Regions from separate parts of the Homo sapiens genome. Here all the other regions are linked to region 2. Evidence: promoter capture Hi-C in 16 types of primary human blood cells and fetal thymus (Javierre and others, 2016). All regions are on one chromosome and are shown on one strand. Each heading gives the region's core, a stretch centred on a gene start or on the middle of the fragment in contact. The rest is flanking DNA. Distances are from core to core; before and after follow the strand shown. Region 1 overlaps DOCK5 (dedicator of cytokinesis 5). Region 2 holds the start of GNRH1 (gonadotropin releasing hormone 1). Region 3 overlaps DOCK5 (dedicator of cytokinesis 5). Region 4 overlaps DOCK5 (dedicator of cytokinesis 5).

What was found. The method cuts DNA at HindIII sites, captures the fragments that hold promoters and counts their contacts. A CHiCAGO score of 5 or more calls a contact.
Region 1: a contact is called between a fragment that was not itself captured here and the fragment with the promoter of GNRH1 in region 2, in 1 of 17 cell types (neutrophils). The highest score is 6.7, in neutrophils.
Region 3: a fragment that was not itself captured here is called in contact with the fragment with the promoter of GNRH1 in region 2 in 1 of 17 cell types (neutrophils); the score reaches 7.8 in neutrophils.
Region 4: a fragment that was not itself captured here is called in contact with the fragment with the promoter of GNRH1 in region 2 in 1 of 17 cell types (neutrophils); the score reaches 6.1 in neutrophils.

What each region holds. Positions count from the first base shown.
Region 1 is chr8:25,247,231-25,254,301 of GRCh38, reverse strand. All of the region lies in intron 2 of DOCK5 (dedicator of cytokinesis 5), which reads right to left. Among named protein-coding and RNA genes, the nearest start is that of DOCK5, 66 kb to the right of the region's middle. The HindIII fragment of the contact is 5,525 bases long and covers 1,972-7,071 here.
Region 2 is chr8:25,420,154-25,426,540 of GRCh38, reverse strand. GNRH1 (gonadotropin releasing hormone 1) reads left to right here and starts at 2,280. Exons shown (of 4, transcript NM_001083111.2): 1 at 2,280-2,340; 2 at 3,210-3,351; 3 at 4,873-4,968. The coding sequence starts at 3,211. The HindIII fragment of the contact is 12,746 bases long and covers 1,155-6,387 here.
Region 3 is chr8:25,199,503-25,206,463 of GRCh38, reverse strand. All of the region lies in intron 1 of DOCK5 (dedicator of cytokinesis 5), which reads right to left. Among named protein-coding and RNA genes, the nearest start is that of DOCK5, 18 kb to the right of the region's middle. The HindIII fragment of the contact is 3,415 bases long and covers 381-3,795 here.
Region 4 is chr8:25,271,059-25,278,245 of GRCh38, reverse strand. DOCK5 (dedicator of cytokinesis 5) reads right to left here. Exons shown (of 52, transcript NM_024940.8): 4 at 2,805-2,860. It also overlaps the pseudogene LOC124901864. Among named protein-coding and RNA genes, the nearest start is that of MIR6876, 71 kb to the left of the region's middle. The HindIII fragment of the contact is 2,243 bases long and covers 1,554-3,796 here.

The DNA.
Region 1 (7,071 bases), core at 3,485-5,984, 170 kb after region 2:
CATGTTATTATATTCTAAGAGTTTTACACCTTTATATTTTACATTTAGGTCTTGAATTTATTTTGACTTATTTTTTGTCAAGGGTGAAAGGTCTGTGTCTAAATTATTATTTCGGCATGTGGTTGTCAGGTTGTTCCAGCACGATTTGTTAAAAAGAATATCTTTTCTCTATTGTATTGCCTTTGTTCTTTGTCAAAGGTCAGCTGACTATATTTGTGTGGGTCTATTTGTGAGCTCTCTGTTCTGTTCAGTAGATTTGTTTGTCTAGTGTTCTGCCAATACCACAGTCTTGATTACTATAGCTTTATAGTAAGTTGTGAAATCAGGTAGTGTCAGTCCTCCAACTTTGTTCTTCAACTTCATGTTGGTTGTTCTGAGTCCTCTGCCTCTCCACATAACTTTAGAATCCATCTGTCGATATCCACAAAATAACTGTCTGGGATTTTAATTGGGATTGCTTTGAATCTATAAATCAACTTCAGAAGAACTGACATTTTGACATTGAGTCTCCCTACCCATGAACATGGGATAGCTTCCATTTATTTAGTATTTCAAATTCTTTCATCAATATATGCTTTTAAAGATAATAACTGACTCTTATATTACTATGGATGAAGCAGAGGCATATATTTAACTTTTTTTTCCAGATATAAGCAAGAGGAGAAGTATGATCATTTGCCCTCAATCAATTTTAAACTTTCCTCTAAGGCTTTCTCCTTACACTAATCCTTAATGAGGCTTAGCCAGCCCAACCGTGATGTTATATGGACATAACCTAACGCATTTAAAAAAAATAAAGGTTATGCACCAAATAATGTGAATGCTACAGCAATCAGGGGTGTGAAGACAGCTGTGAGCAGGTATGTGTGTGCATGGGATGGAAGGACTCTGCTCCCATTTCAACCACTTGATCCAACCAAGATCTGTTGCGGTCCAAAATCTGTGGAATGCTAAAAGCTCCTGGGAATATTCCTCCAGAGTACTCCCAAAAGCATATTTGCTTTCAGACTGAGTTTGCCTCCTTAGGTGCATAGGAGCTGCCCAAATAGGTAATTCCAAGTACTTACTCATGACAGAATAACTGAATGAAGGTACCACTCAGGAAACAGTTGTGAACTCTACAGTAGAAAATTCCATATATGCCTATACCTGAATCACGTACATTTTTAAAGATGGAATTTTAGGGTTGGTGGTTCATACCTGCAATCCCAGCACTTTGGGAGGCCAAGGTGGGCAGATCACATGAGGCCAGGAGTTTGAGGCCAGCCTAGCCAACATGGCAAAACCACGTCTCTACTAAAAATTAGCTGGGCGTGGTGGCACGTGCCTGTAATCCCAGCTACTCGGGAGGCTGAGGCATGAAAATCACTTGAACCCAGCAGGCAGAGGTTGTAGTGAGCCAAGATTGCACCACTGCACTCCAGCCTGGGAGACAGGGTAACACTCTGTCTCAAAAAAATAAATAAAGATGGAATTTTAGAATTTTAGAAGCATACTGAAACATACCTGAAAAGGAAAAATAGAAGGCATTCGCTTTTTTTAAAGATTAAATCCGAGATAAGACTTTTCACTGACACTCCTTTTAATTAATTTCTCTGGTAAACACCCTCCTACTGCCACACATATCTTTTGAAAAACACATCTCAGGAACATATGTCACCAGCAGTAGTAGCTCACAAGCTGTACTTAAGGTAAAGGTCAAACAGATGTGGGAAGTGACCAAGCACACTCAACAAAATGCCACATGGCCTTATCTGCTTTCCAGGCTAATGCCAAAATATTTGCACGCAGCGTCATAAAATCCAAGCTGTTAGGCTCACTGCCATTTATGTATGAGAAAGGCAGTATTTCTATACCTAGATCGTGGAGACTATATAGATTTTGAATTACAATAAACTTTCAATTATTTTAATTAGCGGGTAACAAAAGTAAACGGAAGTTACAAATACCTTGGACACCCCTATTGAAGCTTATATCCAGTAAACTTTTACACATTCTATTAAGAACTGATTTTTAACAGCAATTTTGAATCTTTTGTCTCTCTCTTGGCTTCTGACCACTGTGCATGGATGACCAAGTAGAGAAAGAAACAAGTAGAAAGGAGGAACAATAAAGAGATTTCAGTGTTACAGAATTAATTGTCATAGAGCATAACAGAATGTGACAATCAGACAGACATTCTCAAAACGTTAGATACCATACTGTATCATAATCCAATGCAGGGTTCCTATTACCACATCTCTAAAGGATGATGATTAAGCCTCTGTTTGAAAAAAATCTTTTAAAAGCACTCTTTTTTTTTTTTTTTTGAGATAGAGTCTTGCTGTGTCACCCAGGTTGGAGTGCAATGGCACGCGTGATCTCAGCTCACTGCAACCTCTGCCTCCCGGGTTCAAGCGATTCTTGTGCCTCAGTCTCCTAAGTAGCTGGGATTATGGGTGCACACCACCATGCCCGGCTAATTTTTGTATCTTTAGTAGAGACAGGGTTTTGCCATGTTGGCCAGACTGGTCTCAAACTCCTGGCCTCATGTGATCTGCCCGCCTCAGCCTCCTAAAGTACTGGGATTGCAGGCATGAGCTACCGCACCCAGCCCACTCTCTTCTTTTTTATATCTCTGTTAGAAAGTTTTGGCAAACATGCAGACAAAATTCATTGCCATGTAACTTACCTGTCATAACACTGCCCACTGTCCCTACTCACAAAGGCCTGCTTTATAAAAATGAGATTCAAAACACATACAGCTCAAGTCTTAATACATTTTTATTCCTTTTCATATTAGAGGGAAGTAGATTTTTTGATTAAAGTGCATTCAAAAACTAGACTTCTTCTATATAGAAGAAATAACATGGGTATTCTGGGGAACTCCTGTACGTATACAAACCCTTCTTTTTGTTTCTTTTAACTTTTCAGGTTTGCCTGTTTCCTCTGGTTCCAGTCCAAGCATTTGTGCTATCCTTCGAGTCTTTACAAATTGCCCTGAAATAATATGTGCTGTGCCTGCCTCTGTACAGTTCAGCTCACCTTTGAGACATTTCGTTGTGTTTGTTCCAACAGCGGTCAATTGTGTTGTATTTACCCCAGAAATCACTGCTAACACCAGCATACCAGCCGCCCTTTCTCGTGAGCTTGTGAGTGGTTTACGGAGCAGAAAAAGAGTTAATCGATGGATATGAATTAAACACAGGAAACCAGCACTAGAGGAACCTCAGACTCCAGGCCTAAAACCACTTGTGACTGGAGTGACGTTAATCACAGGAGAGGGGAGCTCCATGGTAACAGGATGCTGAAACCTGACACATACAAGGTACTATGCACTTTTCAAAGCACTTACATTTGATCACTCTTGACTCAAAAAGTGACTCCAATTTAGATGAAATGTCCTTGTCACAAAGACAGCTGCAATATCTTGCCCAGGGACAGTCAATCTAGACAAGGACAAAACTACCAACCTACAATAGTCTTCCGTCTCCCTCTCCATCGCTGTCCTCCACCTCTGGCCTCTGCAATACCACCCTCTTCTCCCCATAGCATTTGTAAGCACATATCTGAATTGTTTTGTTTACTTACTTTGTTTACTTGGTTTTGTCTATCCCTCCAATGTAAACCCTATGAGAGCAGGAACTTGCATTTTGTCACTTAAGAGACCACAGAGTACCCAGAACATCTCTCATGCTCAATAAATGTACTTGGCACATACTTGGTGCTCAGCAAATAATGTTGAATGAATAAATGACCTCACGGCCGGGCATCTCCAGAAGTCAGTGCACTTTCTGCCATGGATCTGGGGTGGAAAGGAACGTTCACAGTAATAAACAGCTACCTCGCTGCCAAATACATTCCACAGTAAAAGAAGCAAAGACACAAAAATGACTGTGGGCAAGCCAGTGCCAAAGATGAAGAAAGGCAAGAACGCTCGCTTCAGTCCTTAAGGAATTCTGTTTCCTGATAAAGTCTCTAAAGACAAATAATTCCTGGAGACCTGTAACGGATGAGCAGTAGATAGCTTCTCAGTCAGTTCTGCTTCTTTCCTTCATTTAGCAACAAATGAAGTTCAGGGGCAAGGCCAGAGAGTCAAATGAGTGAAAAAAGATGATGGATAGAAGCTCGTTCATCTGGACTCTGGTCGCCTGTTTTGGAGCCAAAGCTCAATCAGTCTGGCAGTTCCTCAAAATATTAAACATTGAGTTACCCTATGACCCAGCAATTCCACTCCTAGGTACCTACCCAAGAGAGATGAAAACATATGTCCACATAAAAACTTGCACGCAAATGTTTGCAGCAGTATTATTCACAGTAGCTGAAACATCTAAACGACCCAAATGTCCAACTGATGAATGAATAAAATATAATGTACCTACATAATACATATTACTCAGCAATGAAAAGAGATGAAGTTGGGCCAGGTGCAGTGGCTCATGCCTATAATCCCAACACACTGGGACACTTGGCCCTTGGGAGGCCAAGGCAGGAGAACTGCCTGAGCCCAGGATTTCAAGACCAACCTCAGTAACATAGCGAGACCCTGTCTCTACAAAGAATAAAAATTTAGCTGGGTGTAGCGGTGTGCACCTATAGTCCCAGCTACCTGGGAGGCTGGAGTAGGAGGATTCCTTGAGCCCAGGAGGTCAAGGCTGCAGTGAGCCGTGATCATGCCACTGCACTCCAGCCTGACCAACAGAGCAAGAGAGAGGGCGAGAGAGATGAAGTCCTGATGCCAAATGAAGGCAGCCAGTCACAAAAGACCACATATTATGTGATTCCACTTACATGAAATGAATTTGAAGCTGCCTAGAGCCAGGGGAGGCATGACTACCGATGGGTACAGAGCTTCTTTATGGGATGATGAAAGTGTTCTGAAAGTAGATAGTGATGATATTTGCCCAACCCTCTGCATTAGTAAATATCCATTGAATTGTATACTTTAAATAAGTAAATTGATTGGTATTTGAATTATATCTCAAGAAAGCTGTTATTAAAAACAAACAAAAAAACCCACAAGGCCAGGCACGATGGCTCACACCTGTAATCCCTATACTCTGGGAGGCCGAGGTGGAAGGATCGCTAAGGGCCGGGAGTTCCAGACCAGCTAGGGCAACACAGCAAGGCTTCACCTCTCCTAAAAAATTAAAAACATTAGCTAGGCATGGTGGCATGTACCAGTAGTCTCAACTACTCAAGAGGCTGAAGCAGGAGCATCCGTTGAGTCCAAAAGGCCAAGGTTACAGTGAGCTGTTATTATGCCACTGCATTCCAGCCTGGGGGACAGCAAGACCCTGTCTCTAAAAAAAAGATAAATAAAATAAAAACAAAAACTTCAGCAATGACTAAATCCTCCTATAATTGCAGAGGACCAAAAAACATTAGCACCCCCTGTATTTCCCTCATAGAGAAGGAACAGCACCTCTGCCTTGTAATACCCAGGGTTTTGTGGAGGTGACCCCTGACCCCCTTACTCTCTACACCAGCTTGCCTTGGTCTCCTATTTTACCTTCATCATTCAATAGATTGTTGCTGAGCACCTGCCGTATACCAGGAGCTAGGGAGGCACAGGCTCTGCAGATGAAGGAGGAACAGGCTTTGCCTTCAAGGAGCCAATACTTTCTGAAATTTTTCAGCCAACCACACGGCAGGAAACAGAAAAAGGAGAATCAAAAATAGTATTCTGTCCCGGGCGGTGGGCAGAAAAAATGTTTCATGTCTGGGTGGATTCATGTCCACGCTGGAAAAACACACACAGATCTGGTATGCAGACATCTCGAGGGCAGGGTGGGGCAGAGTGCAGAGGGAGCGCCCCAAAGTCAGCTCCGACAGGAAGCTGGAAGACACGAATCCCAGGGCCACAATACAGTGCCAGTGTCACCCTTCAGTTCCACCCGGCAGGACTGTCGGTGTTTTCATTGTGTTTATTTTTCTAAAGTTAAGAGGGACTAGGAGAAGAGGGGTAGAAGACAAGTGATTACTCAGCATTCCCATCGCGTTTCATGTTTGCAAAGCACTCCGGCCCTTGCCTCGAGCTGCCTTAAATAATAAAGGAATTTGAGAATCAAGCCAAGAACTCTAAGTGCTTAGCAGATACAAGGACCTATCATGGGACATCTGGCAAGGTAGGCACGATTTTAAAAATTAATCCCAGAAAATAAACACTAATGAAAAATATAATCCAATATAGTAATCTCTCTGTCAAGCTGACCTGCCCCTTGGTGGTTAATGAACTCAGTAAGCTCACGGTGCAGGCTCAAGTGTTCTCAACCTCCCTCCCCTTCACGCCTTGACATGCGCTTACTTTTAAAGAACAGGCACTGACGTCCTTTGAGATGAAAAAGTTCTACGGCTGACGCAGCAAAAATGTTATGGTAGCAGTTAAGAAGAGCGGTTTCTTGCGGGCAGGACTACAGCATCCGGATCACCATAACTGAAGAAGTTAACCATTTTTGTGTGACTGTCAAATGGGCCAGCACATCCTACAAGCATATCGTAGTGTGAGCTGTAATATACTAGAAGCACTGTGGGTTTTGGACTGTTTGGACTCAAGTGCATGGTATTTGAAATGAATGTATCTGTGATTATATTTATATTCAACTAAGCTCAGTGACCCCCTTAGCTTGGTCCATAGGGATGCTGTCTTGAGGAATGTTTATAGGCCAACTGGAGAACTCTTGGTAAAGTATAGTGAGACACTTAAAATTACTTTTTTTTTTCTTTTTGAGACAGGGACTCACTCTGTTGCCCAGGCTGGAGTGTAGTGGTGTAGTCAGCTCACTGCAGCCTCTGCCTCCCAGGCTCAAGCAATCCTCCCACCTTAGCCTCCCAAGTAGCTGAGACTACAGGTGCATGTCACCATGCTTGGCTAAGTTTTAAATTTTTTGTAGAGACAAGGTCTCACTATGTTGCCCAGGCTGGTCTTGAACTCTAGGCCTCAAGGGATCCTCCCATCTCAGCCTACCAAAGTGCTGGGATTACAGGAGTGAGCCACCACACTCATCCTTAAAATTACTATTGATATGAACCCTAACAGGACAAAGTGTTTCAATTAACTATTTCTTAGAAATACGCTGAGGTCACATAAAA
Region 2 (6,387 bases), core at 1,031-3,530:
TGGGCTGGGGAAGGCAGACCCACCCTTAATCTGGGTGGGCACCATCTAATCAGCTGCCAGCAAATATAAAGCAGGCAGAAAAACGTGAAAAGTCTAGATGGGCCTAACCTCCCAGCCTACATCCTTCTCCTGTGCTGGATGCTTCCTGCCCTCGAACATTGGACTCAAAGTTCTTCAGCTTTGGGACTCAGACTGGCTTTCCTTGCTCCTCAGCTTGCGGACGGCCTACTGTGGGACCTTGGGATCGTGTGAGTTAATACTTAATAAACTCTCCTATGTGCGTGTGTTTGTGTGTGTGTGTGTGTGTGTATGTATTCTGTCCCTCTAGAGAATGCTGAGTAATACAATATTGCTGTGTTCATCTTAATAATTTCAAAACATTTTTCAAAAATTTAATCCCAACTGTTAGAAATAACCTACAAGAAATCCAGTGAGGCCTACCTACCCAGAGATAAGTGATTCACCTGACAATATGCATCACAAGTCTTAACTCTCATTTCATTAGTCCTATCCAGAGACCACATTTTCTACTTAAGCAATACTTAGAGGCACATCTCTCAGCAAACACAAACCAATTGGACAATTTAAACTAGCACTATTCAACCATAATGAACTCTGGTTGAAAAACAGTCTGTCCCTACTTGCATATTGTAGTGAGATGAGATTCCACTCTTCATGTCAGAATGGCACTTACATGAGTCAAAGTGTCTAAATGAAATAATTTAAATGGAACAAAGTCAAATACTTACATTTTATTTTTAAATTCTCCTCTATTTGCAGTTATACTTTAAAGTGTACTCCCTTCTCTATCCTATCATGAGGACTGGACAGCCTCCACAGAGATGGCTGGACAAAGCAAGGGAATTTACTTAGGTAAGACACCATTTCTCTTTACTCTGAAATCCCTGCAAATGTAGTTATTCCAGAGGAGACTGTGCAATGACTGATGGGTTTAGCATCCTACATGAGGGGAAATTGCCATTCCCAGCTGTAAAATGAACAAATATCCAGTTATTTTTTTTAGCCATCTTACAGCTTAGCTAATATAACAGGATTTACAGCCAATTATACATGAAAGTTTAATTCTGTGTCAGATAAAGCATATCTTTGATGCAGAAATAGAGGCAGCATTAGGCCTTACCTGGTTAAAAGCTTTTTGCTTTCTATTCATTCATTCGTTCATTCATTCATTCAAACCTATACTTACTGAATGCTCACTAAATGCCGGGGGTTTATTAAGAGAGATTTAAATAAGATGGGATCTTTGACTATTACAGGTTTCAGCCTAGGGGTAAATTAGGGGAAGACAACCATGTATTCAAATAAATGTAATTAAGAGTAATGGTTGTGTGTGTATTTTACATGCTTGTCCTGTGTAAATAACACGTCCACGGTTGCACCTCTGGGGTGGAACATCTATAAAATTTAGATAATGATACCCACTTTGCATGGCTATTGTAATGAATGCTCTTATACATTTGCTATTTATTAAATAACTATAATTTCTCATCTTTCTGTTCCCACTGCCCTTAAGAGTGATTTGCATATTTAACTCAATAAGCATCTACTGAAATGAGTTGATCTGTTGATGTAAGTCTGCTCAATATGGTCTTGCTCTCAGAATATGTTTCTTGCCTTTTTGATGCTTTAGAAGGCTTTCAAGGTAAGTCAAGCAGGGAACCTGGTGGGTAGATGAGGGAATTTTCAAACACACAACTGTCTGATTTAGGATCCTACATGGACTTGGTATATAGTGTCACTTACTTGTAAATCAGATTTTTAAAATTGGAAGCAACTCTGTGATCATCTAGTCCATCTAGTCTACACCCTTCCTTTTACAAATGAAGAATCCAAGAGCCAGAAGCTCCCAGACATCCTGACTCAATGTCCTATATTTGTTGTATAGCCTCCTTTGTGGAAGTTATGTATGCATTTGACTTCACTTAATCTAAGACATCTATTTTCCTTGAACTCTTGATAGGTCTGCTGGTTTCCTCAAGGGAATCCAATCTAGCTGGATTTTAATCTCTTTGAATTGTGTCCTCAGCTATAAAAGTTTTAGCTGAGGTTTTAATGGCTGCACTTAAGTAAATCTAACAGATATACCAGGGGGTGTTCCAATTACATACACCATTAAAGGGCTTTATGTGAGGATTTTTAAAAATTACCATTAAAAAAAAAAAAGCATAGTCCATTTGCAGTATAATTTACCAGCAGGAAAGATTTCAATGTCCTGGAAAAATTCCCTATAAAAAGGAAGATAGGAAAACAGAAAAGTCACAGTACTCAACCTACTTCAAGGGAAGATTGGGATCTTTTTGGCTCTCTGCCTCTAAACAGGTAAAAGGCTTTGTATTATTTCTAGCACGAGTTTTTCTTCTTTAGATTGCATGCTATTGTATGTCTACAGGGCATTTGACAGCCCAAGGGCTAAATCCAGGTGTGACGGTATCTAATGATGTCCTGTCCTTCACTGTCCTTGCCATCACCAGCCACAGAGATCCAGGCTTTGGGGACTCCCACAGCTTATCGACCAGTGTTTGATTTAGTTTTTAGCCTCTTTCCCATCAAATGAAAATTAACTTGGAGACACATTTCATTAGAAAATTAGAGGCCCCCTTGGCTAGGAAGGCATCTGGTCTGGGACTAACTACTTTGAACAGTGTTGAGTCCTCTCTCCCACAGATGGTTCAGCCAGCAGTAATGCTAGGAAGACTGAAGGATAAATAGAAAAATGTCATTAGTACCATGGGGTAGCCATGTAATGTCAAGCAATTTTATATTAGCCAGAGATTCCTAGTAGGAGCTACTTTTCTTAACAGATGACTCAGTTCTCTTTATCTCAGGAATGAAAGAGTTGAAGACCAATCCACAACAGGGGAAATGTTAAGGCAAAATGATGAACTTGATAAGGGATGAATTATGGGGTTTGGATAACCAAACAATAAAAATAAAAGTATAGACTATTTTAGTACTAAAAAGGTCCTGAACATGTGAGCTTAAGTACTCATTTTGTCCCCAGTGGCTAAGAAACTAAAGGCAAGCCAGCAAGTGTCTCTGAGTTTCAGTGTCTGTATGTAAAAACTGACTCTGACTTCCATCTTCTGCAGGGTTAGTGATACAGATGCTAGCTTTTTCACTAAAGAGGTCTTTTAGTTTATACTCAACCTTGTCTGGATCTAATTTGATTGTGCATTCATGTGCCTTAGAATGAAGCCAATTCAAAAACTCCTAGCTGGCCTTATTCTACTGACTTGGTGCGTGGAAGGCTGCTCCAGCCAGCACTGGTCCTATGGACTGCGCCCTGGAGGAAAGAGAGATGCCGAAAATTTGATTGATTCTTTCCAAGAGGTAAGTTTCTCTCAGCTTCAAAATAAGACATAGTGATTTTATTCAATTTAACTATATTAAACATTCAGGATAGCCCCAATGTCAATATTCTATGATGTTGTACCCTAGATGCTCCAGGTGAGATAAGGCACTTACAAAGTAGAAGTCCCATTCCTACTTTCAGTTCACACAGGGACTAAACAAAGAGCTGGAAAAATTCCAAAAGAATATATTAATAGCAACAAGTGTGAGACAGCACGTCATACTCTGAGTGTATGGGATTGCTAAAGGAATTAGAAACAATGGGATAGGGTCAAGGTCTGTATCAGAAGATGATTCTTTGGGATTTGGAAAAAACGTTAGAACTTCGTTTTTTTTTTCCTCATTTCATCTTTTAAACATATCTATGCTATTAGATCAGTACATTTTTATAATTTATAAATGAGTATCCTTATCAAGGATGCATGCCCTATAATTTCTTTTCACTGATAGGGGCATTTAAGCAAAGTTGGAGACTGGTAGAATACAGGAATTAGCAAACTCAAGATGATAAGATAACGTAGTAGAAAACATGCTGATTTAAATTCATATAGATTAGATTATAGGACTGGCACCAACACTAACGTGAGGTACTTGCTTTCTTGTTTTTTGGGGTTATTTTCTAAGACAGGGTCTCGCTGTGTTATCTAGGCTGGAATTTAGTGGCACGATCACAGCTCACTGCAGCCTTGACTTCTTGGGCTCAAGTGATCCTCCCACCTCAGCCGTCTGCATAGCTGGGACCACAGGCATGCACTATCACACCCAACTAATTTTTAAAACTTTTTATAGAGATGGGGTTTCCCTATGTTGCCCAGGCTGGTCTCAAACTCCTGGGCTCAAGGGATCCTCCCACCTTGGCCTCCCAAAGTGCCGGGAGGATTTTTGTTTATAAAATATGACCACTCATCAGGGTCATGTAAGGAAAGAAGCCATCTATGTTAGCTGATTAACCTGAAAAATAACCTAGGACTGAGAATGGGAAAAATTTTAAATCATTTCATTATCATTGGAAGGAATTATCTCTTTTCTGAGAAATAATAAAGATAATTTAGTATTAAAGAAGACCCAGAATCTGAAGCCTCTTCTCTGCAGGTTATACATGAAGCAAATCTCATTGAACTATAACATATTTAGTAAAACCTAGAAAATAAAAACCAACCTTTTTTTACAACTATAAACTCTTGGGGGTTTTTTGCTTTTTGTTTTTTTGGGTATACTGACTCTCATGAGGCTCAAAGTGCCTCCCTCTTTTCATCTTTAAGGGGAAAATATGATATCTTCTTACTGTCTCCATTATCTCCAGATCCCCATGCCATTCAGTAGAAATGTCAGATGGCAGATCTGTGTCCTTAAAGTCCCTATGCTAATCCTGCAACTTTCCCAATCTCCCCCAGCCCCACATCCCCCTTGACCCCACTCTCCACAATTTTTTGGTGGAAATGGAAAACACCATTTCATTTCTTTATCTCCATCTCAAAGCATCACATTCTCTTTCTTCAGATAGTCAAAGAGGTTGGTCAACTGGCAGAAACCCAACGCTTCGAATGCACCACGCACCAGCCACGTTCTCCCCTCCGAGACCTGAAAGGAGCTCTGGTAAGTTAAAGTGATCATAACATGATCACAGCATAGAGCTCTAGAGGTGGATAAGCCTTTGGGGATCACTTAGGACAGCTACCTCCCAGATACTGTGGGGCTTACATTCCTGACTCCTCTGTTACCTCCTGTGGTAGGACCGTGTTTCATGACAATCCCAGTTGGTGGTTAGACAGCACTAGGGGCTGAAACGTTTTTTTGTTTGTTTGTTTTTTCTGAAGTTGAATTGAAATCTCTCTGTAACTTTTATCTCTTAATCCTGGTTCTAGCTTTTGGGATAACTAACAAAACAAATTTCTTCCCACTGCTGCATTTCATTTCTTCAAGTAAAATCACCAAACCCCCTAGACTACTCCACTCCAGGCTACTCCACAGCCCTCCACCTGATCCTGCAACTGTGCTTTATCTTACATGGTTTTCCAGAACCTTGGGGAATAGAGACATGAGAAACACTGCTGTAGATGGGTTTTTTTTTCTCTTCTTTGGAATGAAAAATGCCAAACTACTAAATTTATAATTTAGAGAGTGATGGACTTGATTTCCAGTTTCCTGATAGGACAATAATCACCTCCAAATTCCGCCCCCCAAAATGGAAATACACTAATCATATTAGGTTTTTGATGAAAAAGTATAAAGAGAATTGAATGTATAAATTGAATCTTTTAAAAAAATTATTTGTTGAGACAGGATCTTGCTCTGTTCCCCGGGCTAGAGTGCAATGGTGCAATCAATGCTCACCACAGCCTCAACCTCCCAGGCTCAAGCAATTCTGGAGACTAGATTAGCCTCTCTAGTAGCTGGGACTATAAGCACTTGCCACCACACCCAGCTGATTTTATTTTTTAATTTTTTGTAGAGACAGGGTCTATGTTGCCCAGGCTGGTCTCAAACTCCCAGCCTCAAGATCCTCCCAAAGTGCTGGGATTAAAGGTGCAAGCCACTGTGCCTGACTTAAGTTGAATCTTGGATTCAATGTTGATATTCTCTGATCTCTATTGTCCACTTATCTGCAGCAATCAGAAGGCATTACAGTTAATGATCAGTTATGCCTAGGAGCTGGGAAAGCCCAAATAAATCATATATAAAAATAAGCTGTAATTTTAATTGTCTACAGTGACTTCAACTTAATATACCCACAGAACAAAGAAAAAAGTGGGCAGACGTCGTTATTTCCTTTTTCGTTTTTTTTGGAGTGCAGTGGCGCAATCTCGGCTCAATGCAACCTCCATCTCCTGGGTTCAAGCGATTCTCCTGACTCAGCCTCCCGAGTAGCTGAGATTACAGGCATGAGCCACCACACTGGACTAATTTTTGTATTTTTAGTAGAGATGGGGTTTCACCATGTTGGCCAGGATGGTCTCAATCCCTTAACCTTGTGATCCGCCCACCTCGGCCTCCCAAAGTGCTGGGATTACAGGC
Region 3 (6,961 bases), core at 839-3,338, 220 kb after region 2:
AGCTATCTCTTAATCCACTGCTGGTCTGAAATTGGCCACTGTGGGAGTATTTACACCACAGATATTGGTGAATGCTACAAACTCAAGTTTTTTCCTCCCACTCTACAGAGCTAGTTTACCAGCACACTATTGCAGCATGAATGGTTAAAGAGGAAGAAAAAAAATCAAGGTAAACAAGTCTCCCCATAATCTGACAAAATCTATATCATTTCCCTCTTTTCCACTTTACCCACCCTTTGCTTCAGCAAGAATGGACAACTTCCTCATTATCCACTTGCCACAAATAACTGCGTTAGGGCCAGGGCTCACGCTGTGCCAGGTCCCCAGCCTTCCCAAACCTGATGTCCATCTCTATAAAGTTCAACTACTTCCCTGAAGCTTCCTCAACTCCCTCAATTAGAATAATCTCTGCTTCTCTAAACTCCAATAACCCCAACTGGACTTTTTTTGCAACTTTTTTCATGTTCAGCCTTCCTTTCCCTGGAGTTATTTATGGCTTTATACTTGGGGTCTTTTAATTCATTATAAACTTCCCACAAACAGAATCTATGTCCACTTCTCTTAAGTGTTAGGAGAAGTATCAATTAAGTGTGCAATGGCATTATCTCTGAGTATTCCAAGTGCTAAGTGCATACCTCCTACTCAGATACCTGGTGAATCGGTGAAGATGAACACAGCATTTATTTGCACAAGTCTTCAGTAACCCATGTCTCTCTCCCCTTCCCACACCTACAATTCTAGACCTGCAAACTCATGAGTTCACCAGCTGATTTGGGCCCTGACAACTGAATCAGCAACAGCAGGATTTTCAAGGCCAGAAGGCTGCTAAAGGCATGTATCTGATGTGCATGTGAATTACTTTCACTAGATTCAAATCCCTGTAAAAGAGGAGGGAAAAATCTAGGATTAAACTACAGAGATTGAACTTTGATCTGGCAACAGTGGACTCGTATTTCAAATAACACGCAACTCCCTGTGTCTCAGTCAGCTTAGGCTGCCATAACAAAATACCACACACCATGTGGCTTAAATAACAGAAATGTGTTTTCTAACAGCTCTGGGGGCTGGAAGTCCAAGATCAAGTTACCATCATGGTCAGTTTCCGGTGAGGGCTCTCTTCCCGGCTTATAGGTGGCCACCCTCTCATTGTATCCTCACATAGCATAGAGAGAGAAAGAGAAAGACAGAAAGAGAGAGACAGAGGGAGAGAGAGTGAGAGACAGCAAGAGCGAGAGAGAGGGAGAGCGCTCTCCACATAAAAGAAGAGACCAGGCACAGGGGCTGACACCTGTAATCCAAGCATTTTGGGAGGCTGAGGTGGGAGGATTGCTTGAGGCCAGGAGTTCAAGACCAACCTGGCCAACATAATGAGACCCTGTCTGTACTTTAATTAACTTTTTAATAAAAGACATTTTTAAAAATAATTTTTTTTAAAAAAAGCACTAATCCCCTCATGAGGGCCCCACCATGAACTCATCTAAACCTAATTATCTCCCAGGACCCATCTCCAAATACCATCACACTAGGGGCTGAGGCTTCAACATAGGAATTTGTGAGGGACATAATTCAGTCCATAGCACTCTGTTAAAATCAATCTTCCTTTAAATACTTTGGGAAAGACGACTGAGAGATTTGGGGAAATCTGAGAAGTGGAAACCAGATGAAAAAGATCACAAGTTCAGCCTCAGGGAGAGAAAATTAGTTCTTCCTATTAACGTATGACTTAGCCAGTCTGAAGAGTATATGAAAGCCGCCAAGAAGTTAGAAGAAAGACTACTGGATTACCATCGGCATGTGAAGAAAATTTGGCCATAAAGTAATGGGGTTCTTTGCACCAAACCTTTGTAGACAAAGTTTCCTCAGTAAGTCTTCAGGCAGAAAGTTCAATGGCATGTCAACTTTAGATCCTAGCAGTTTTTAGTCCATTAATGTGGCCTAACAGGCATCGCTTAATTCATTTGCAGAAATTTTCAACAACTGAAAATTCATCACACTCTGAGAATCTAGAAGGTAATAGAAAATATTATCTCTGTTTTGCAGATGGAAAAACTAAGCTAAAGAGAGTCAAGCCACTTGGTCACTCCTGTAACAGAGACTGAAATACAAACCCAACTTCCTAATCCTGGGATCAATACTTCTGTTAGTTTCACTCCATGCACTATCCCCCAAAAACCTAAATGCCCCTAAAATTTTAAAAAATTTCTTGTATTAAAAAGTTAAAGTACAGACAGGGTCTCATTATGTTGTATCGACTATGAAGTCGATAATTCCTGAAGTTACTTCTATGAAGTCTATAATTCATCCAAACACATGCTATTAAAAAAATTGGCAAAGAATTCTCAGAACTGAGGCAGATAAATGAACATGGTATAAGTAACTATTTCTGCAAGAAAAACAAACAAACCCTCTAATCTTCCAAAAGTATAAAATCCTGTCACTCAAGGCTGCTGATAAAAGCAAGAAGATAAAGACATCTAAGACGAAAGAACACGTTTCATTTTAGATATTTCTATTTCCTCCATCTGTATTTGTTGAGGAGCAATTTTAGGAAGGCAGGATCACTGAGATGCTGTACTTTTCCTAAGGTTTTACAACTGTTAGCTAATGCCTCCACAACATGGGATTTTGTACCTCAAGTCCTAAAAGACATTAAACCAAAAGTAAAGAGAGGCGAAAAAAGGCAAATAAAAGAAAAAATCACTATGTCCATATGTCCTCCCTGACAGATTCCAATCTGATCTTTAAAATTGAGTCTTTTGGGCCACAAATGAGAGGCTCTCTCTTTTCCTGGTCTAAAATCTATCCCCATGCCACCACATTGTATCAGAATCGAAATGTCACCAGAGGAGAGTGATACAGGGTTTGCTTCACGGAGTGAGCTATTTGTTTTTGAAATAAGTCATGTTGTCAGAATCGGAACTGAGCAAGTATACCCATTTCTCATTCAGGAAAGAAAATATAAGACGGATTCAAAATTTCCAAGGCTCTTGGCTTAGATCACAGCTCAAACATGAAAAGAATTCTTCTGTAGCCTCAAACTATTTCTGAATTTGTGAGCTTACCAGTGGACCTCCCTGAAGCTATCAAACAATTTGAAAACAATCTTGAGCAGCAAATCTAATTCCGCCAAAGATAAACTGGATGCCACCCTCTGCCAAGCCATGTAAGGATCTTCTGAAAAATGACTCCAGTATATTCTATATGCAAGCAACTCTTTAATTCAAGAAGACATCAGCCTTCTTTGAGGCAGGCTTTCAGGCACATAAGATAGTCATTCAGGATTCTGTCATCAGTGGATTCCTATCCTCATATTCTATGATGATCTGGGTGTTAAGACCAGAAATGGCTGGCCAAGAGCTACTGGTCACACATCCATGAATTCATGACACTGGAGATGTATTTGGTAGCACTCTTATCAAGCTAAAGAAAAGGAAAGCAGCCATTATGAATCCCTGCCTACTGCTTCTATGTGTGTTTCTATAGACTCTTTATCTTACACAGTAGTCTCCTAGTGTCCCCTGTGTCACCTTCTGTGGCTTCAGGTACTCAAGGTCCAAAAATATTAAATAAAAAAATTCAAAAACAAACTGCCGGGGTATTGCAGTGCTGGTGTTCAAGTCACCCTTATTTTACTTAATCATGGCCCCAAAGTGCAAGAGTGGTAATACTGGCATATTGTGTTGATTGTTCTTTTTTATTATTAGTTATTGTTGATAACCTCTTACTGTGCCTAATTTAGAAATTCAGCTTTATCATAAATATATTTGTATAGAAGCAGCATTGTATATACAAGCTTGGGTACTATCCGTGGTTTCAAGCATGCCTTGAGGATAAGGCGGGACTACTGTGTGATCCTCACCACCATCCAGCCCAGCAAGACCCTGGAACATAAAAGGTGCTCAGTGAACATGGGCTTCCTCAGAACAGTGAGGTGGGTTAGCCACAGTAAGGGGATTCACACGCAAGGTGGCGTGACTCAAAACATTTCCGTTAGTTTGTTGTGTGTGAATTCATTCATTCATCCATTCCTCTTAGGATTCCAGGCTGTTCTAAGCCAGTGAGTGAGTACCACCCCAAAAGCACAGGATCAGAAGAAAGTAACAGTCCCATCACCCAGAGATCCCTGGGAATTCAAATATTTTCCAGGGGTGGGTGCGGTGGCTCACACCTGTAATGCCAACAGTTTGGGAGGCCGAGGCAGGTGGATCGCTTGAGGACAGGAGTTCGAGACCAGCCTGGCCAACATGGCAAAACCCTATCTCTTCTAAAAATACAAAAATTAGCTGGGGGTGGTGGTGCATGCCTGTAGTCACAGCTACTTGGGGAGGCTGAGGCAGGAGAATCGCGTGAACCCGGGAGGCAGAGATTGCAGTGAGCCACGATTGTGCCACTGCGCTCCAGCCTGGGTGACAGAGCGAGACTCTGTCTCAAAGAGAAGAAAAAAATATATATATATATGTTTTTTTCCCAGGAAGATTCTTGCAAGATAAGGCCATTTCTGGCCATAAGGCTCTAAAATCAAAAATATACTCAAATCTATTCTGAACTTTGAGGACAGGTTCTGAGCCAACCAGTATTAACTACTTGGTAATCAGCCCCACTCTGCAAACAAAGGCACCTGATTGCCAGGCTAGGGTACTGTCAGGGAGGCTGCGACTGAGCAAACTTTCAGATAGCTATCACGTACTGCCCACTGTACCAGGAAGTGTGCTAATCTTATTCCTTCCGTCTTACTTGACTTAGAGCCTTATATGACTTCACAAGGTAAAGAGTAATAAAAGTTAGGAGACTTGGACTTCAAAAATCCCAGCCACAAGCAACTACTCTCCAAAACCTCACTCTGCAGCCAATGGCTCTTGCATCCACCTTGACGATTCTGATTTCAAGCATGGCTTGGCTGCCCGGCTCCACAGCCTGCAGGACTAAAGGTAGTAATCAGCGTTCTAAAGTTAGCTTAACCTGTTGCCCTAAACAAGTCAACATCTGTATCTCAATCTTCTTCAGTAACTCAAACATATTTTTTAAAAGGCATGTAATGTTAGTGATACTGTTAGACTATAGAAATAATTGTATATAAATGTTCTCTTTCACTATTGAAATACTTTGTTTTATGTAATGCTACTAGTGTTTTGTATGTCATGGGACTAAATATTACCTTATCAAAATAATACAATTACATCATACTTTATTGTCTTCAAACAGAGAGAGGAGACGAAGCCTGAGGCTAATGGTTTATTCACCATGAAATAGCCATTTAGGCCGGCCACAGTGGCTCACGCCTGTAATCCCAGCATTTTGGGAGGCCGAGGTGGGCGGATCACCTGAGGTCAGGAGTTTGAGACCAGCCTGACCAAAATGGTGAAACCCTGTCTCTACTAAAAATTCAAAAATTAGCCGGGCATGGTGGCATGCACCTGTAATCCCAGCTACTCAGGAGGCTGAGGCAGAAGAATTGTTTGAACCCAGGAGGCGGAGGTTGCAGTGAGCCGAGATTGCACCACTGCACTCCAGCCTAAGTGACAAAGCAAGACTCCATCTCAAACAAAAAAAGAAGAAGAAGAAATAGCCATTTAGATCCTTAAACAACCAACAAATTAACACTACAATTAATAAGATGTAATTATACAAGTTTTAAAAAGTAGGATTATAAAGAGATGAGACCAGCACAGGCATGTTTTATTTTGCCCTTTATTGAAGTAAAATATTGGATTTGGTTTTTGTTGATTAACAAAGAGATGGTCATAAGTAACTAACTGAATGGCAGAAAGCAAAATGTATTAAATTACAGATGGTCTATTCTAAGGTAACAAAAATGTGCTCTTATGTTTTCTTCTAAGAGCTTCCACTGTTTTATCTTTCATACAGCTGGAATCAATTTTTTATGTGGTATTAGGTAGGGGTCCTGATACATTTTGTTCAGTATAGATAAACAAACGACTCAGTATCATTTTTTGAAAAGATCATCCTTCAACCACTACATGCCACTCTCACCTTTGTCAACACTTTATCTATCACTGCGTCAGAATCTTTTTAATGGCTATATAGTTTTCCATTGTATGCATGTGCTATAAATTACTAAATCCATCCCCAATTAGCCAACACTTGAGAGTTTCCATGTTTTTGGTATAAATAATGCTATAATGAATAACCTTGTCCATGTATTATTCCCCACATGTGGAGTATATTTGTAAGATAAACTCAGAGAAACGGAGTTGCTAAGTCAAAGGGTATGTGCATTTTTAATCAATACATGATAGAGGTTATACCAACTTTAATTGGAATTTTCAAGTCACAATGAACTCCAAAGTATTATGATAAGATACAGCACATTGCCATTTCAGTTACTCCAAAGTTCCCAACATTTTTGGCCCTTAGGATTCTTTTATAAAAGACATCAAATGTATAACAATGCTTCCAGTATCCACTGATTGAAAGTATATATAACCACATAAGTTCACAGAAAATGTGCCTCAGTATTCTGCAAAATGTAAATTAACAAATCTAAAACAAATCATGCAGTCACAATTGGATAGACAGGCCTTCTCTGCTTATGGTAAAGAACAAGGGCAACTTGCTGTTTACTTTTGTTCTGAAGGAAGTTCAAAGCTCAGCACCAGCACCAGCACCAGCACCTCTGGTTCCACGTGGGTAGATATTGCCCCATTTCAGGAGTTTGCTCCCGATGGAGAATGACAGTGATTGTCTCTGCATGAGAAGAGGCTGCATCTCCTCCTCCAGAGTAAAGCTGTCCACTCCCAGCAAAGAAAATAGAGCAGAAGTTGGTTGGGCGTGGTGGCTCACGCATGTAATCCCAACACTTTGGGAGGCCAAGGCGGGAGGATCACCTGAGGTCAGGAGTTCAAGACCAGCTTGGCCAACATGGTGAAACCCCGTCTCTACTAAAATACAAAAATTAGCCGGGTGTGGTGGCAAATGCTTATAATCCCAGCTACTAGGGAGG
Region 4 (7,187 bases), core at 1,426-3,925, 150 kb after region 2:
GCAGCATTTTAGCTGGTTCCACCAAGCAGCTGTTTCATTTGGGAGGCTGGATGGAAAGGTGTGTGTGGCACGAGTGTCCTGGGGCTGTGACTCCACCCAGGACCTGGTTGGGGCAGAGGCCAGGGTAGAGGTGGGGGATACGGAGGCAGCACCCCTTTCTGGAATAGTCCCATGTTTTCTTCTCATCTGCAGTTTCACAACACAGAAAACGTACACTTAACAAAATCCTTGCTTACTCACAGAAGACTCTCATAAAGGTAGGTACTACATTTATTCACAGAAATCCTCTCTGGCATTTTTATGATTAGCAAAAAGAAAAAAGGAGAAAGCAAGAGCAAGCAAACAAATTGGAACTGGTGGTAGGACTGCCAGGCTCAATGAGGAAAAATATAGGAGACCTAGTTAAGTTTGAATTTCTGGTATAGTAAGATTTTTTAGAATAAGTGTGACCCATGAAATATCTGGGAAATGCTTACTATGAAAAATTACTTACTATTTGAATTGCCAATGTAACTGGGCATCCTGTATAACCCTAATTGGTGTGAATGTGCCTCCCCACCTACGTTTCCTCCAACATGGTGGGTGGCAGTGGAGGCAGCCCACGGCCCACCGGAAAGAGGACTTCTCCAGCAGGGCAGGAGACCTGGTTTTTGGTCCTGGTTCTGCCACCAAAGAGCTGTACGGCTTTGAGGACATCTTGACCACTTGTCTATGAAATGATGGTTCTGCCATTTCTTGTTCCCTGTGCTGTATCTGGGAGTCTGGAGCGATGAAGACCTCTGTGCTCTTGGTGGGCCCTTCCTCTTTTTTTTTACTGTTTTGGAATCCTTTTGAACTTGACCCAGCAACAGTTTCAATGTGTTCTGATGATTGGTTGTTAGTCAGAATGAAAATAAGGCCCTTTGGTAACAACACGGAAATTAGAATTGATGACATACACCTGGGAGATAACTGTCCTGTAACAAGACTGTTCTCATTTAACTATGAGTTTTCTTATCCTGTCACTTCTTGTGGAATCAAGAAAATTACGTTCCAAAGAAATGATGTTGCCCTATTATCAGTTACAGACCAATGTTGCATACTACCTATGAATTTCCAGTGGTTTGCTTTGTGAAGAGGCTTAAATTCCCATCTGTGATGCATTTTGGAATGAGCGGGTTTGAGGCCAACGCTCATTTGAAAGATAATACTCAAAAAACGAAAGGACAAGAGTCATCGGCTCCCACACAAAGTAAAACATGTGAACATAATTTTAGCAGTGTTAATAAGGAGCAATTATCCACAAGTCACTGCAACAAAAACGCCTGTGTCATAACATCCTCTCCTCCCTGAGGCACGGGAGCAAGTGGCACATACTTGCCTGGGAACCAGTTTCATCAATTCTGCTGTTGTATGGGTCCAAAGATGAGGAGGAATATCTGTTACCAATTTCACTGCCTTTTGGAGTTTTGGATAACAGATCTATACCGTGACATTTACACTTTTTAAACAGTTAATTTTAAGTGGAATTGCCATTCTAATTTTGTGAAATCAAGTTCATACAAAATAAAGCTTGCCCATCATAATTAAAAAAAGAAAAGAAAACAAAAGAAAAGAAATGATGGTGCTGAACTACAACTGGGAATGCTCTTTCTAGCTGTGAGGCTGCATGGTTCTGTGACCCAGCTGTCCACTCTCTCCTCGGCCCCACTCTCCTCTCCATCAGCCCCAGGATTCCAGTCCTACCCCAGCCTCTCCGTACTGCCTCCAGAATTCTCCTGTCCAGAGACTCACCATCACCTAAGTCACCTCTCTCTCTCCCACTTAGACTAAGTAGCTCACTCTTCTTAGCTGTCACAGAGGCAGTACTTCCCAGGACAAATGAGGTGGGCAAGATGAGGTGGGCAAGAAATATGAATACCCAAAATATAGCAGATCTTATCTTCAGGGCACATTTGCATACATTACCTCATTCGAATCTCATGACAAGCTCATGATCAAAGTAGGGTCAGATTGTTTCCCCTAATATGCTGTGAAAAACCCAGGATCCACTTAAGTTTAAGTGATTCATCCAAGGCTCAGAGCTGGTAAATGCAGGCTGTTGCTTAATCATCTCTCTCTCAAGGATCCTGAATTGGGGGCTTCTCAGATCTTATCAGTCAGAGTCCCAAATGTTCATGTGTGCAAACATACACACACGCACACACACACAATCAGTGAACAGATAATAAATGTAATGTAGAGGCAAAAGCCCTCAGTTTTTGCTACTTCTGTGTTTAGTATTCTGGAGAAGTAATGGAAAGGAGGAACAATTATAGAAAGAGAAGACAGAGGAAGGAATTGTATGAGTGAAAAGTTTTTCTTCATTTCTCTCTCATAGGAGAAGTAGAACTGATGAGATGAGAGAAATTTTTTAATTTTATTTTTTTTTGAGAGAGAGTCTTGCTCTGTCACCCAGGTTAGAGTGTAGTGGTATGATCTCAGCTCACTGCGAGCTCTGCCTCCTGGGCTCGAGTGATTCTCCTGCCTCAGCCTCCCCAGTAGCTGGGATTACAGGCACCCACCACCAAGCCCAGCTAACTTTTGTATTTTTAGTAGAGATGGGGGTTTTACCATGTTGGCCAGGCTGGTTTCGAACTCCTGACCTCAAATGATCTGCCCACCTCGGTCTCCCAAAGTGCTGGGATTACAGGCGTGAGCCACCACGCCTGGCCTGAGATGAGAGAACTATTAACGTACATAAGGCATTAATGCCTAAAGATTATCATTAATGATAATGTTACATCTTCATCATTTTTGGGGAATCTTCCTAGCTTGGAACTTACCCCAGGTCTTCCACAGTTGCCTCTTTCAAATGGATATATGTTTCAGGGAAAATGCCCTACAGAGAAAAGAATTTTGGTTATATGGCCATAAAAACAAAACAAAAACCAAACAAAAACACCTCAGCCCAAAGTAAAGAGAATAAATGGGAACACCCAGGCAATAGCTAAACTCCTGAGATCAGGTTGGCAGGACACCACTTACGTTGACTGGCTACCTCCACAAAAGCATGGTGGAAACATCAAAAAGGTAGAAATTAAAATTTGGGTTCAGAGAGCATAGGATATTTTGTGAATGAAGAGGCAAACATGCTGTGTCAGCTCAGAGATAACATAATGGGAAGGAGTGTAATTGTGAACTCCTAAACCCCTCAGATGCTACTTGCCATGAGATGCTTCCCATAAGTTTCACATAAGGGGTGACATGGAAACTATGCAGTACTCAGTAGCCCATAAAATAAGTCATCCCTCAGAATATGCAAGGGGTTGGTTCCAGAAACCTCCTTCCCACAAAGCATATACCCAAATCCACACATACTCAAGTATGGCACGCAGCCCTGCACAACCCGCATATACTTTTACACAGGTTTCATGTCCCAAGAATATTGTAATTTTGATTTGCATTTGGCTAAAAAAAAAAAATCCATGTGGAAGTGCTGCAGAGTTCAAACTCATATTTTTCACGGGTCAACTACATAGTGATTTTTCTAAAGTAGTTCCTCTCAGCACTCCCACTTAAACCAAATGCACTCAAAATCAACGGGTGTTAGTTACCTGGTTATTTTCAGCACCTCACAGTGTCAAACTGCTCTCCATTCTATATCCCTAAGAGGCAGTTCTACATCAGTATTGTAACACTGCCCATGGGGAAGACTTAGGCCTGGAAAGACCTAAGAGAAAGAGGAGAAACTGGTGGATAGAAATCAGAGAACAGAGGACCAGATCTAACCAACAGGAAGCAAGTCCCAGATGTGAGTGTTATGTGTACCAAAGCTTCTGCTGTTTACTGTGTGATATGCTCACACACAGAGGAGATGTCATCCGGAGACAGTGATGCTGATCTGTTTCATGGTATCTTACATGGAGCTTATACCTGGCACTGTTGGCTAACTGCTCCCAGCCCTATTCCTGGAAGAGTTGGTGTGAACTCCATGAACATGACATGTCAGGGGTGGCTGATCATAAAGGTGGGAGGGGATGTCCCAGTGCCCGGAGGCATATATACCCACTGATCCTTACTCCACTCAGACAGGAAACCAGTGAACATTGACAGGGTTGTTCTTGTGTCCAGTTGCATGTGCTATATTTGTCTGTACAACACTCTGCTTTCTCTCTTTTAATCCGTTGCCAATAAAACAGGAAACAGCAAGAACATTTGAGATTAAACTGCCCCTAGCATTGGTGATGACAGAGTGGATCCTGCATGTGCTTCCCCACCAGACACAAAGCCCCAAATAAAAAGTACATCCCTTCTCCTCCTCGCTTTGAGACGGGGGCAGGCGTGGGGAATATGAGTGTGAATTCTAATCCCGTTACTGATGAGACCAAGAACACACACAGACACAAGGTGACAATGACCTCTTTCATTATGGAGGTGGGATTCAGAACCATTTTGGAAAACTGATCAAATAATTGAAAACAAAAATTAAATGTGTGTCTACTGTGGGGCACAGTAGACAGGACACTTTCTCAATGCGCCACCCCTCAGGTCAGGTGAGTTTGGCCATGGAATTCTATCAGTATAAAACATACACGCATAGGCACACCATCGAAGTGAAAAAGAAGGAGATAAGTCTTCTGACTATTTATTCATTCATGCGTTCATTCATTTATTCATTCTTTGAGACAGAGTCTTGCTCTGTTGCCCAGACTGGAGTACAGTCGCACAATTTCGGCTCACTGCAACCTCCGCCCTCCGGGCTCAAGCAGTTCTCCTGCCTCAGCATCCCAAGTAGCTGGGATTACAGGTATGCACCACCATGCCCGGCTAATTTTTGTATTTTTAGTAGAGACAGGATTTCACCATATTGGCCAGGCCAGGCTGGTCTTCAACTCTTAACCTCAAGTGATCAGCTCACCTCAGCCTCCCAAAGTGCTGGGATTACAGGTATGAGCCATGTGCCTGGTCTATTTAATTTTTTTAATGATCAAAACAGGGAACTGTCCTTTGCAGTGCCAGGCATGCAGCAGGCACTGAGTAAACATCTGATGAATATAGCAATGAGAAAGGAGGGTGTTCAGTTCAAAAACTGCGTGTGATTCCTCTGGGGCCTGATTTCTGCAGTTCGGAAGCTCTAGGCCTGTCCCTAGGAGGCCTAAGGAACTCTGGGTGTTTCTTCTGCCTGCTGTGCCGCTGTGCCACTGTGCCACTGCGCCACGGCAAATGATTTGCTGACTATCATCTCTGTGGGGAACTAAACTGGGATGTTGGGAACTAACCTTGAAGACATTACACTAAGTGAAATAAGCCAGTCACAAAAGGACAAATACTGTACGGCTCCACTTACACCTGGAGTAGTCAAATTCATAAAGACAGAAAGTACAATGGGGGTTCTGAGGGGCTTGCGGGGGATAGGGAACAATAGGAAGTTAGTATCTAAAGGGGACAGAATTTTAGTTTGGAAAGATGAAAGACTTCTGGAGATGGATGGTGTTGATGGTTGCACAACAATGAGAATGTACTTAGTGCCACTGGAAAGTACACTTACAAATGGTTAAGATGGTAAATTTTATGTTATATATATTTTTACCACAATAAAAAAAGTCCAAAACTCATAAAAAAGCAGGAGTGGGGTTGCGGAGGCGCTGGGCACGGATAAACTGTTTAGTTACAAGGATCCAATTCTGGAAGTCAAAAGTAAAATGTAACACTGCTACTACAAAGGAACATCCCTGCTGAAGGTTTTTGAAATCAGAAGGTAAAGGACCAATTAAAATTTTCATGCATTCACAATCTGGTGACTAGTCGCTCCTAATAAGTGGAAAACATTCAAGATAGAAGTATTCAGAAACATAAATGCAGAGTGATGAATCTTGTGACATCTAAGCAGATCATAAGCAGACAATTTACACTGGATGTTCAGACATGATGATTTTCATATTAGGAGAATATTTGAGGCAAGGCACAGTGGATCATGCTTGTAATCCCAGCACTTTAGGAAGCCAAGACAAGAGGATCGCTTGAGCCCAGAAGTTCAAGACCAGCCTGGGCAACAAACTGAGACACCGTCTCTACAAAAATTTAAAAAATTAGCACAGCATGGTGGCACATGCCAATGGTCCCAGCTACACGGGAGGCTGAGGCAGGAGGATTGCTTGAGCCCAGAAGGTCAAGGCTGCAGTGAACTGTGATCACGCCACTGTACTCCAGCCTGGGCAACAGACTGAGATCCTGTCTCAAATATGTATGTATGTATGTATATATGTATGTATGTATTAGTTATATAGCATGTATTTGTTATACAGTATGTGTGTATTTGTTACATAGTATGTGTGTATTTGTCATCAGTAGGCTTCACCTTTCCATGATGACACTTGGCCATTTACAGTCATAGAATTGCTCTGGCAAATCTGATGCTTATAGAATGACTCCTATGCCATGATGACACACAGAAAGTCAGAGTAAACCTAGGTCATGTGTTTCTGATTTACAGCCTGTCTCTCAGTTCTGCTTCTCCTTCCTCATTGTAACCCACTCACTTGAGTAGAAAAATAAACTAATGATTTTCTAGATGTTGCCCTTATCCACACTCCCACAATTCCACCAGGATCAATAATCAGTTTCGGAAAAGCGCTTGGCTTCTTCAATTTGTAAAACCACTAGCTCCTTTTATCATCAACTAGCTCCTTTTATCATCACTCTAAATGGCTGGGTCAGCTTATAAATGACACCAAGAATTTCCATTAAAACAACAGGCCTTTCAAGTAGCTCTTCCCCTTAAAGACGGAGAAATGAGGGACACAGCACAGGAGAGCGTTTCTAATGAGCTGATCTCTTAATGACGGGGTGTCAAAAGCAGAGCAGAATTCATGGCAACTGAATTTGATTTGCCTGTATTTTCCCTGAATCTCTCCACAAGAAGGATATTTCGGCTTAAAACAATCATCAAATAAATGCATGTCCCTTGTCTGTGTCATCATTTCATTGAATTAGAAAGTTTTTCTTTACTTACCAAGAGAACAAAGAGAAACTCTTACCGAAAGATTTCTTCTGAAGGGTGAGATTTTAAGCTTAAAGGTTTTAAGCACTCTTTAATGAACACAAAAAAATTTAAAAAAAATCCAGAATTTATCATTTAGATCCTGGGGGAACCCTATCTATCTACTGTTCAAAGCCAACAACAATGGCACTATTAGCTAGACTGATTTTTATATACACAAGGCCCT